Regions from separate parts of the Homo sapiens genome. Here all the other regions are linked to region 2. The links are contacts of gene promoters, found by promoter capture Hi-C in blood cells and fetal thymus (Javierre and others, 2016). All regions are on one chromosome and are shown on one strand. The core of a region is centred on a gene start or on the middle of the fragment in contact, and the rest is flanking DNA. Distances in the headings are between cores, read along the strand shown. Region 1 overlaps NUP35 (nucleoporin 35). Region 2 holds the start of UBE2E3 (ubiquitin conjugating enzyme E2 E3). Region 3 holds the start of NCKAP1 (NCK associated protein 1).

Evidence for each region. Contacts are between HindIII fragments. The CHiCAGO score rates a contact against its expected background, and 5 or more counts as called.
Region 1: a contact is called between a fragment that was not itself captured here and the fragment with the promoter of UBE2E3 in region 2, in 1 of 17 cell types (activated CD4 T cells). The highest score is 5.1, in activated CD4 T cells.
Region 3: a contact is called between the fragment with the promoter of NCKAP1 here and the fragment with the promoter of UBE2E3 in region 2, in 10 of 17 cell types (activated CD4 T cells, fetal thymus, naive B cells and 7 more). The highest score is 15.6, in activated CD4 T cells.

The regions. Positions count from the first base shown.
Region 1 is chr2:183,126,647-183,129,469 of GRCh38, reverse strand. It overlaps NUP35 (nucleoporin 35), which reads right to left. Exons shown (of 9, transcript NM_138285.5): 2 at 1,013-1,183. Among named protein-coding and RNA genes, the nearest start is that of NUP35, 3.6 kb to the right of the region's middle. The HindIII fragment of the contact is 1,080 bases long and covers 751-1,830 here.
Region 2 is chr2:180,979,048-180,982,102 of GRCh38, reverse strand. UBE2E3 (ubiquitin conjugating enzyme E2 E3) reads right to left here and starts at 1,498. Exons shown (of 6, transcript NM_006357.4): 1 at 1,130-1,498; 2 at 1-85. The coding sequence starts at 60. UBE2E3-DT (UBE2E3 divergent transcript) reads left to right here and starts at 1,091. Exons shown (of 2, transcript NR_187176.1): 1 at 1,091-2,037; 2 at 2,437-3,055. RefSeq lists a silencer at 1,221-2,080. The HindIII fragment of the contact is 2,197 bases long and covers 191-2,387 here.
Region 3 is chr2:183,036,867-183,039,801 of GRCh38, reverse strand. NCKAP1 (NCK associated protein 1) reads left to right here and starts at 1,345. Exons shown (of 31, transcript NM_013436.5): 1 at 1,345-1,810. The coding sequence starts at 1,703. RefSeq lists silencers at 772-1,423, 1,156-1,745, 1,806-1,925. The HindIII fragment of the contact is 8,317 bases long and covers 1-2,935 here.

The DNA of each region.
Region 1 (2,823 bases), core at 41-2,540, 2.1 Mb before region 2:
AAACCATTTTAAAGCAAAAATACTTTAAAGGGCAATTAAGGTAAAAAGAGTTTTCACTTGAACTACTACTAAAGGATATTAGCTCACAATTAGAATTCAACACTTCTGTATCTAATTCTCACTACTCAGTTAAAACTTCGAAGTCATTTTTTAAAGTATTTCTTTGCTAAAGGAGTTCTGTAATAAACACAGGCTGCATTTACAATACTTTGCCCTGACAATCACAAATTCTGTGTATAAAACCTCCCCCCCAAGTTTCCTTAAACACGCTATATGTGAGAATCTCAATTCACTAAGACTAAAGGCAGAATTCGTATCTACATCTTCAAGTTACACTTCTTTTGACCGATTATTTCCTATTCTTGTATCTTAAGATGAATTACTTTAAATGAATTCAGTTGAAGCTAAATGATGGTATTTCATCAACTCTGTGAGGCACTCTTCCCCCACCACACTCTGACATCTCCGACACAGAAATTTTACAAAAAATGGCATCTTAGCATTGTGTCATATTTAGGGTTATCTTTCCTAGTGGTACTTAAAAGCCAATTCAAAGGCATCTTAGAATGAAAAAAACATAGAATACATTTTAGTGGCTCTAGAAATTATAGCTTATACTTCTTACACCTCTATTCCAAGAGCCTTAAAAGCTTTGCTTTATAATAGACACATTGCTTAATTTTTTTTAATTAATGTATTGATGAGGGTGAATGCTGCACCACTACACTTTTAAAAATTCTAGCACAAGCTTGTCCCACCCATGGCTTGAACACCGCATGAAGCCCAGGATGGCTTTGAATGTTGCCCAACACAAATTGGTAAACTTTCTTAAAACATTTTAAGATTTTTTTTGCATTTTTTTTTTTTTTTAGCTCATCAGCTATTATTAGAGTTACTGTATTTTATGTGTGGCCCAAGTCAATTCTTCTTCCAATGTGGTTCAGGGAAGCCAAAAAATTGGACATCCCTGTATCTAGCATGTCTATAAAATTATTTTAAGCAATTCACCTACCTGCAAGTAAAGGTGATCTCATTTCCATTACTCCTACTGAAGGGCCACTAATTGATCGAGGTTGTGGAGTCACCGGAGCTGGCAAATCCCCCATTAAAAATCCAGGTAAGAACTGGGCATTAACTCCTGGCTTTGGAGATGTGGGTGAACCCAGCATCATTGGTTCAGATCCTACATGAATCAAAAAATAAATTAAGGACTTTTCTGTTACAGTTTCTGTTACATGTTGATGACAAAAACATGCAAGAATCTAACATAATTTTGCAAATTTAATCAAAACTTTTAGATATAATAGAACCATAGTTGAATTTATTATTTTAAAAGCCAACAAAAAATATTTCTAGAAAAATGTAAAGTTATCTTGTATTCACTTTTTTTTTTTTTCTGAGTCCGAGTCTCACTCTGTCACCAGGCTGGAGTGCAGTGGCGCAATCTCAGCTCACTGCAACCTTCACCTCCTAGGCTCAAGCGATCCTCCCTCCTCAGCCTCTCAGTAGCTAAGTCTACAGGCCTGCACCACCACGCCCAGCTAATTTTTGTATTTTTTTGCAGAAATGGGGTTTCACCATGCTGCCCAGACTGCTCTGGAGCTCCTGAGCTCAGGTGATCCACCAGCCTTGGCCTCCCAAAGTGCTGAGATTAAAGGTGTGAAGCCAGTACACCTGGCAGCACAATATTTATCTGTGACAGCTATTTTTGTTTACATTATTTCAGGGGTTTAAAAATCACACTAATAACTTCTTTCCATTTCCGAATCAGTTTGGACTATGTAACAACCAAAAACAAGGACAGGCTGCACTACTTATACATACAAAGCTTAGCATATCAAACACAATGGGTTAAGCTTGCTAAATTGTTTCTTTTTCTTCCCCATAAAAAGTTCATCATTATTGTGATAAAACCGTAACCATGCATATATTAGAGCACTTACAAAATAACAGTGATAACTAGCACCCTAACTCAGAAACATGTTGAAAAGAGTCGAAAACTTATTTTTGTATCTTTTTTCTTAATCATTAGTTTAAGTCAAGAATAATCACAGCTGGGCATGGTGACTCACGCCTGCAATCCTAGCACTTTGGGAGGCCAAGGCAGGAGGATCACTTGAGCTCAGGAGTTCAAGACCAGCCTGGGCAACACACTGAGATCTCATCTTTTTTATTTAAAAAAAAAAAAAAATTAAAGAATCATCATTAAATATCCCCCTAATATAAAGCCAACTTAGAGAACTGAAACCTCACAATTGATACAAAATAAATCCTCACAATCTATAGAGTAGATATTATTTCCCTTATGAAGATGAGTGAGCTATATAATTCTAATTTCAGAGCAAAATAGCAGAATAAGGAAAACAATGGGCTATGGAGTCAAAGATGTGGGTTCAAGTTCTCTCAGTAAAAGGGAATAAGCATAGCTAGCATCCACTAACAGAGCTTTTGTTAGAATTATAGCAAGTATAGCTTGACCTGGTACCTGATACACAGGTGCTCAATAAATACGAATTATTATTTTCTACAAATATTTTATAATAGCAAAAACTGAGTAAAGTATAAATGTAGAATTTGCAATCTCTGCTTATGAAAATAATTTTCAACTAGGTGACAAGCCTGAGTGTGACTCATTGCACTCAGAAGGGTCAAATGTTTGCTATGTTATTTGTATGGTTTTTTATTAACTATTACTTAACTTCTAGATGGCCTTAACAATCTGTTTCTTAATATCCGAAAGCTGCCAACTATTTAGTCTTCCTCTTATTTCCCATTATATTAGGCCTAGATATTAACAATACAAGTGTATAAAAGACAAAAAAA
Region 2 (3,055 bases), core at 249-2,748:
TGAACTGCCACTGCTGGTGCTGGGGCTCTCATCATCGGACCTTTGCCTATCACTGGACATCTTGGTGAAGTTATCTCTTGGAAAACTTTTAAAGAGAACAGGGGAGGAGGAGGAGAAAATGTTAAATCTAGGAAATAAACCAACAGCATTTTCTTCTAGTCATCTAAAATCGTCTTGTAATGAAAAAGCTTCAAAAGTGTTCACACTTATTTCATCGTACAACAGGGGTACGTACAAGGGAGGTGATGTGTCACACAACGCCAGCGTTAAGGGATTTGCCGAACTCAAGTTAGAAAACCCACTCACATTTTTTTCCGTCTCTTGGACAATCTATCAATTGTCTACTTTCTCAGAAGGCATGAAACAGATTTGCCAAGGAACTTAGGCAACAAGCATTAATAACATATGACACACTGTAAATAACAGATCTCGCTGAAAAATGTTTAAAAGTCACTAATAACGTCTAAATATTTACACACTGACATTGGTCAAAGCTACCAAATTCCCTTTCCGAGAGGAAAACACACCCTGTTAATCGCCCATATGCTTATTTAAGGTGGCGATTCCTCCTCAGTGCACGTAAAGCCTTTAAACACAACACTTGGAAATTTAAAAATCAACTAACGAGCTGCTCTAGCTGTTTCCACGGCCAGCAGCGAAGATTCATCCGGCCAAGACCGAGCTGCCACCCTGGGAAAAGCAGAATTCAAACTGCACCTTCTGCAAAGCTCCCAATGCCACCAAGGTTCCTCGCTCAATTTTTATATCACGGACCGACATTTTGTCCAAAATAACGAAAAAAATAAGAAACCCAGAGAAAAAACAAACAAATAAACAAAGCCCCAAGAAGTGCAACAAATTTCCGCGCCCGCGGAGGCGAGCCACGGCCGGCGGCGGCGGCCACGCAGCTCCGCGGCCCTTTGTGGGGAGGGCCGCGCGGGGGCCGCGGGTAGCGCTCGCCGCGCCGGGCGCCAAGTGATGCGAGCAGCCCAGCCGGCCCCGCCGCGGCTCGCGGACACCGGCGACGCGGGCGCCCGGCGCGAACAAAGCTGCCCGCCCCCGCCCCCTCCCCCACCGCCGCCGCCGCCCCGGCCGCCCCCCACGCGGCCCCCCGGCCCCGCCGCCTTACCTCGGCCGCCCGCCCGGCCCGCTCGCGCGCCGCTACGGTGTGGGGGAGGGAGAGAGAAAAAAACCCTTCCTTAAGGAAATGGAGGCAGCTGTGGGGGGGGGAAGGGGGGGGAGGGAAAAAAAGAAGCCGAGGAGGCTCTGGCCGGGGAGTGTGGAACATTGAAAGTCGGAGGGGGTTGTGCAGTGCCGGGCTCCGGCCGGAGGGTGGCGCCGCCCAGCGCCTTCGGAAAAAAGCGGGGGTGGGAGCTCGGCTGGGCGAGGGCGCGAGCTCCCGGCGAGGCGGAGGGGACGCGGGAGACCCCCGCGCGCTGTAGCCTCCCGCCGCCGCCGCCCGGCTCGGCTCCTCCCGGCCGCGCAGTCAGCAAGTTCCGAGGCGAGCGCGGGGGGGAGGGGCGGGCGCGGCGGCGACGCGCGTGCTCGCTGCTTGCCTGGCGGAGGGGCGCGCGCCGCCGACGCCCGGCGGGCGCGAGCTGTTCCCGCGCGCTCCCGTGCGCGCTCTCCACACCTCCCCTCACCCTGGGGGTGCACGCGTCCGCCCGCGCGCGGCCAGGACAAAGAGCGCGGCGGGGACCCGGCGGGCTGGCCCCTGCCGCCCTTGGCCGCGGAGCCTGTGCCAGAGAAGGCGGGGGCGCGGGCACCGTATCGCGGGGCCGCTGTGCCGCGGGGTGGCTTCCGGCCTGGGCCCGCCTCCGGGGCGAGGCTGCCCATTGGGCTACCCGCGTCCCCAGGGCTGGTTCCATCCCATCCGCCTGCGCGGGGGCCGTCGTGGCTCCCGGGGCCCCAGTACCTGGGCAAGGGCCCTGGGCGCGTGGTTGGGAGTCCCCCGCCGCCCCGGGAGACGGGAGACTAATGGGTGTTGTTGACGAGGCCAGGCACGCAGGCGGAGAAGAGCTGCCACTTGCCCCTCGCGTAAGCTGGAGGAAGGGACAAGTTGGGGTCCTGGGAATTGAAGAGGGTAGAATGTATTTGGAGATTAGGGGAACAACCTCTATTTCTTTTTGGCTCATAGCTTGCAACTGTCGCTGCCAAAGGGAAGTGTCCTTCGGATTATTTGAAACCTTAAAAATCCAAAACAGTGTTTAAAATGTCCCGCTCAACATTCTTAAAAGTGAAGGAGAAGAGTTTGGGGTTGGGGGGTGGCGATGAGAGCTAAAACATGACACTTTTCTGCGGGACTCTTCTGTCTTGCACATGAGGAGCCAGTTCTGGAAAGAAAAGTTCTGAGTGATGTTGAGTCAGAATGTCCACCCAGAAAAGCTTTAGGTGGAGATAGTGACAGTTTTGTTTGTTCTACCATTCTTTTTGCAGTCTCCAGGTGGACTCTGCGGTTTTTACCCCACGGCACAAAGTAGCCAGAATACAAAAACTTCCTGTTTGCCACCCAGGCCTTCTCCAGCTACTGAGAACTTGTTCCGGTGATGGAGCCTCAAAGGAATTTGTGGATTCCTCTCCCACAAGTGTCCAGGGGCAGGGGTGCTGTGAGAATGTGCAGTTCACAAAGGGAGTGAGAATGGCAGTCAAAAGATGTATAGAGTTAAGGGAAAGAAGAAAAGACTGAGTGAGCCAACGTATTTGCTTACTATTTCTCCTAATAGAAAACTTTTGGTAAAGGCTTGATAGCAACTCTAAAGAGTAAGTTACATTTCCATAATTTTCCAAAGACACAGTCATTCAGTTAACTTTATTGAGGGCTATATGTTGCTAGGTGCTGGACATACACTCATTCAATTGCTGTGTGACTAAAGCCAGGTCTCTACTCTGTGCTAAGAGCTCCTAGTCCAGAAGGGGAACAGTTCATTAAAGTTCGCTAGGTTCATAAGTAGTAAGGATATTCCACTCAGAATGAACAGATAGAATATCTCATGCCTCAAAAAAGATCATGGTCTGTGTGTGGACAAGCATTTTGATTTGGCTGGGTCAAAGAGTG
Region 3 (2,935 bases), core at 96-2,595, 2.1 Mb before region 2:
CAGGCTGAGAAGTAACCAGATAAATTAAATTCCTTGACCAGTTAATGACTAGTAATAGCTCGACAGATGATCTCTCTGAAGTGTTTGTATTCTTAAGACTCTCTAGGTACAAAGCATTCATTCAAGGTACTGCAGCTTTGTATATAGAATTTCAGGCACACTGGCAGGTATGATTATGACTTCTTTTGGTGGGAACAGGACTCTTTTAAATGCCCCTTAGATTAAATCCATTCAGTCCACTCCTTCTTTCTTGTTGGAATATTAAAATGAAGATTTCTTTACGAATAGTAGATATAGTAGCTTTAAAAAATATTTTAAAGCTATTCATTACAATTTCCTTTTCTTAAAGAGTTTTGATAAATCCAGTGATGGCTTATTACTCTTAGAATGTCTTATTGAATGTGGCGGGACATTTTGTTACTGACTTAAAATTAATGAATATAATATAAAAAATTAACATATCGAGAAAAGGCAAAGCCAAAAATATTAGAGGCCTGAGTCCTCTTGGCTGAAGTTTCTCACCTCAATTACGTAAGTCCTCAGTTAGTTCACTTTTGGAATCATGTCTAATACATTTGACAAGGGAGTAGCCTTGGAGTGTCGCTAAGAAGAAATTGATCAGGAAAAATGAGATGGCAAAGAAGAATGTTTCCAAGAAGAAGTGGGATTTAGGGTGGAGGCTGTAAAAAAATGGGAGCGGTTCCTTTAGGCATTGAACAAACATTTATTTTTTGCCTTCCACATGCCAGGACCTACTGCGTCTCCTCCGGATGGGTGCTCCTCGCCGACAAAGTCTAGATTGTGATTATCTCAAGGACTTGAGTTACCCTCACTTCCGACCTCCTCTCTCACAAACTGGTTCCAGGCGGGGAGACTGAGGATGGGCTGGGGAGGCTGGCAGAGGCGATCCCCACCTCGCGGAGCACAACATCTGCTGTGTTCTGCGGCGAGCGCCTGTCAAGCAGTGGGAGGAAAAAGCGCTTGGAGCCACCAGCCCACTCTTAAGCGAAACTCGCCTGGAAAACACCCCGCCTCCCAGCAGAGTTTCTGCCGGTTTCTTTAGAAGGGTGGTGCGGAAAAGCAACTTTTGGGAACTTGAAGGAGTGGGGTGTGGGGCGAAGTGGAAAGAGCACACAACGCGACCCCACTCAGTCCCCGCTTGGGACTCCCATCCCGGCATCAGGCGTAGTGGGCGGTCCGGGCCAGGGCCAGGGCCAGAGCGGCGGCGGCGAGGCCATGCCGAGGGCCCGTCGGCCGCAGTTCCCCGTCCGGCCTCGCGGGGGCGCCGGCGCTGCCGATCAGGTGACCGAGGGCCCGTCCGGGGCTGCGGGAAGCGGCCTCGTTCTCAGCCGCCGGAGACGCCGCCGCCGCCGCCGCCGCCGCCACACCTAGTGGAGCAGCCGGGGAAGGCGGCTCGTTGGGGGCTGGGGCGGAGAGCGCCGGGGGTGGGGGCGGAAGGGCGGCGGGCGGAAGGCAGGAGGCTGCCGGGGCGCGGGCTGCTGCGGGAGAAGGGGCTCCGAGGAGTCCGCCGCGGCTCGCTCTGTCGCCGGCGCGGGATTGGGGCGCGAGGGCCATGGGCGCGCTCTCCTAAGGCGGAGGTCGCGGGCGGGAGGGGAGGAGGCCCGAGAGAGGCTGCTGCGAAGGCCGCGGGCCCGTGACTGGGCGCGAGGCGGCCGGCGGCGGCGGCGGCACCAGCACCACCATGTCGCGCTCAGTGCTGCAGCCCAGTCAGCAGAAGCTGGCGGAGAAGCTCACCATCCTCAACGACCGGGGCGTCGGCATGCTCACCCGCCTCTACAACATCAAGAAGGTGCGCACGGGCCGGGGAGGCCGCGGCGGAGGCGGGCGGGCCCGGGAGGGATGAAGGGCAAGGGAGGCCGTGGGGTGGGGGCGGCAGGAGGCGCCGGGTGTAGAAATCTCGGCGTCGCCGCCCGAGGCCCGGCCCGGGGTCGCCTGGATGCGCCGCGGCCTAATGCGGAGTCCCGGGCGCCTCTCCCTGTGGTTCGCCGGCCGGCCGAAGGCAGAGAAGCCATTTCCCGGCTCCCGGCGGCGGGATCGGGCGCTGGGCCTCGCACGGGGTGGGGGCGCCGCTGGGAGCCGGGAGCTGTCCCCTCCTCGGCGCCCCCGCCCCCATGATGGGGCCCATAGGAAAGGGAGGGTGGTGGGTGGGCGAAATTCTAGGTGGGTAGGAAAACTTGAGTGTTCCATATTCTTACGGAGATGGCAGCAGTGAACAGGGATTACACCCCACATCCCCATTTTTTGGTGTGGGAATGTGGGTAGAGAAGGGCTGATTGGATGAATCCCGTATCCCCTCCACTTTGCCACTTTATTTTAGATTGCTAAATAAAAAGCCATTGAGAGTGTGTTGACGATTTGGGATTATTTCATTTTGAAGGTGGAGAGGAGGGGGAAGTGAGGGTGGAACCAATTTTCTGAAATACTTCTAGGCTGTGAGTCACTAGAACTGGAATAACAACCTTCTACTCTTTCCCCTGTACTCCTCCTCATGTTAGATTTTCCAATACCATTTCTTAAAGTTCGGTGTCTGTACAAAATAAAAACCGTAAAAATGTTGCAATTGCTGCTGATTTATAGCATAGTCTGATAATTTGAGCAACTATAGCTAATAGGCCCATTTAAAGGCTTTTACATGTCCTCAGTACAGTAAGGAGTGGAAGACCACTGGAAGTTTAGAAAAGTCCATGTAAAGATAGAACAAATAATTACATTCATTATCGTAGGACAAAACAACAAAATCTCTCCCCTTAAGGCAAGGTTGGTAAGTTTTAAACAATTTGATAAAGAGAAAAAGAGATATTTGGAAAATTTAGATCCATCGAGTTTCCAATGTGTCTTTGATGTCATACCTTCATAACTATTTGTTGGCTTTTTAATATATCGTGAATGTTACCGTTTAGTTTAATCATAGCAA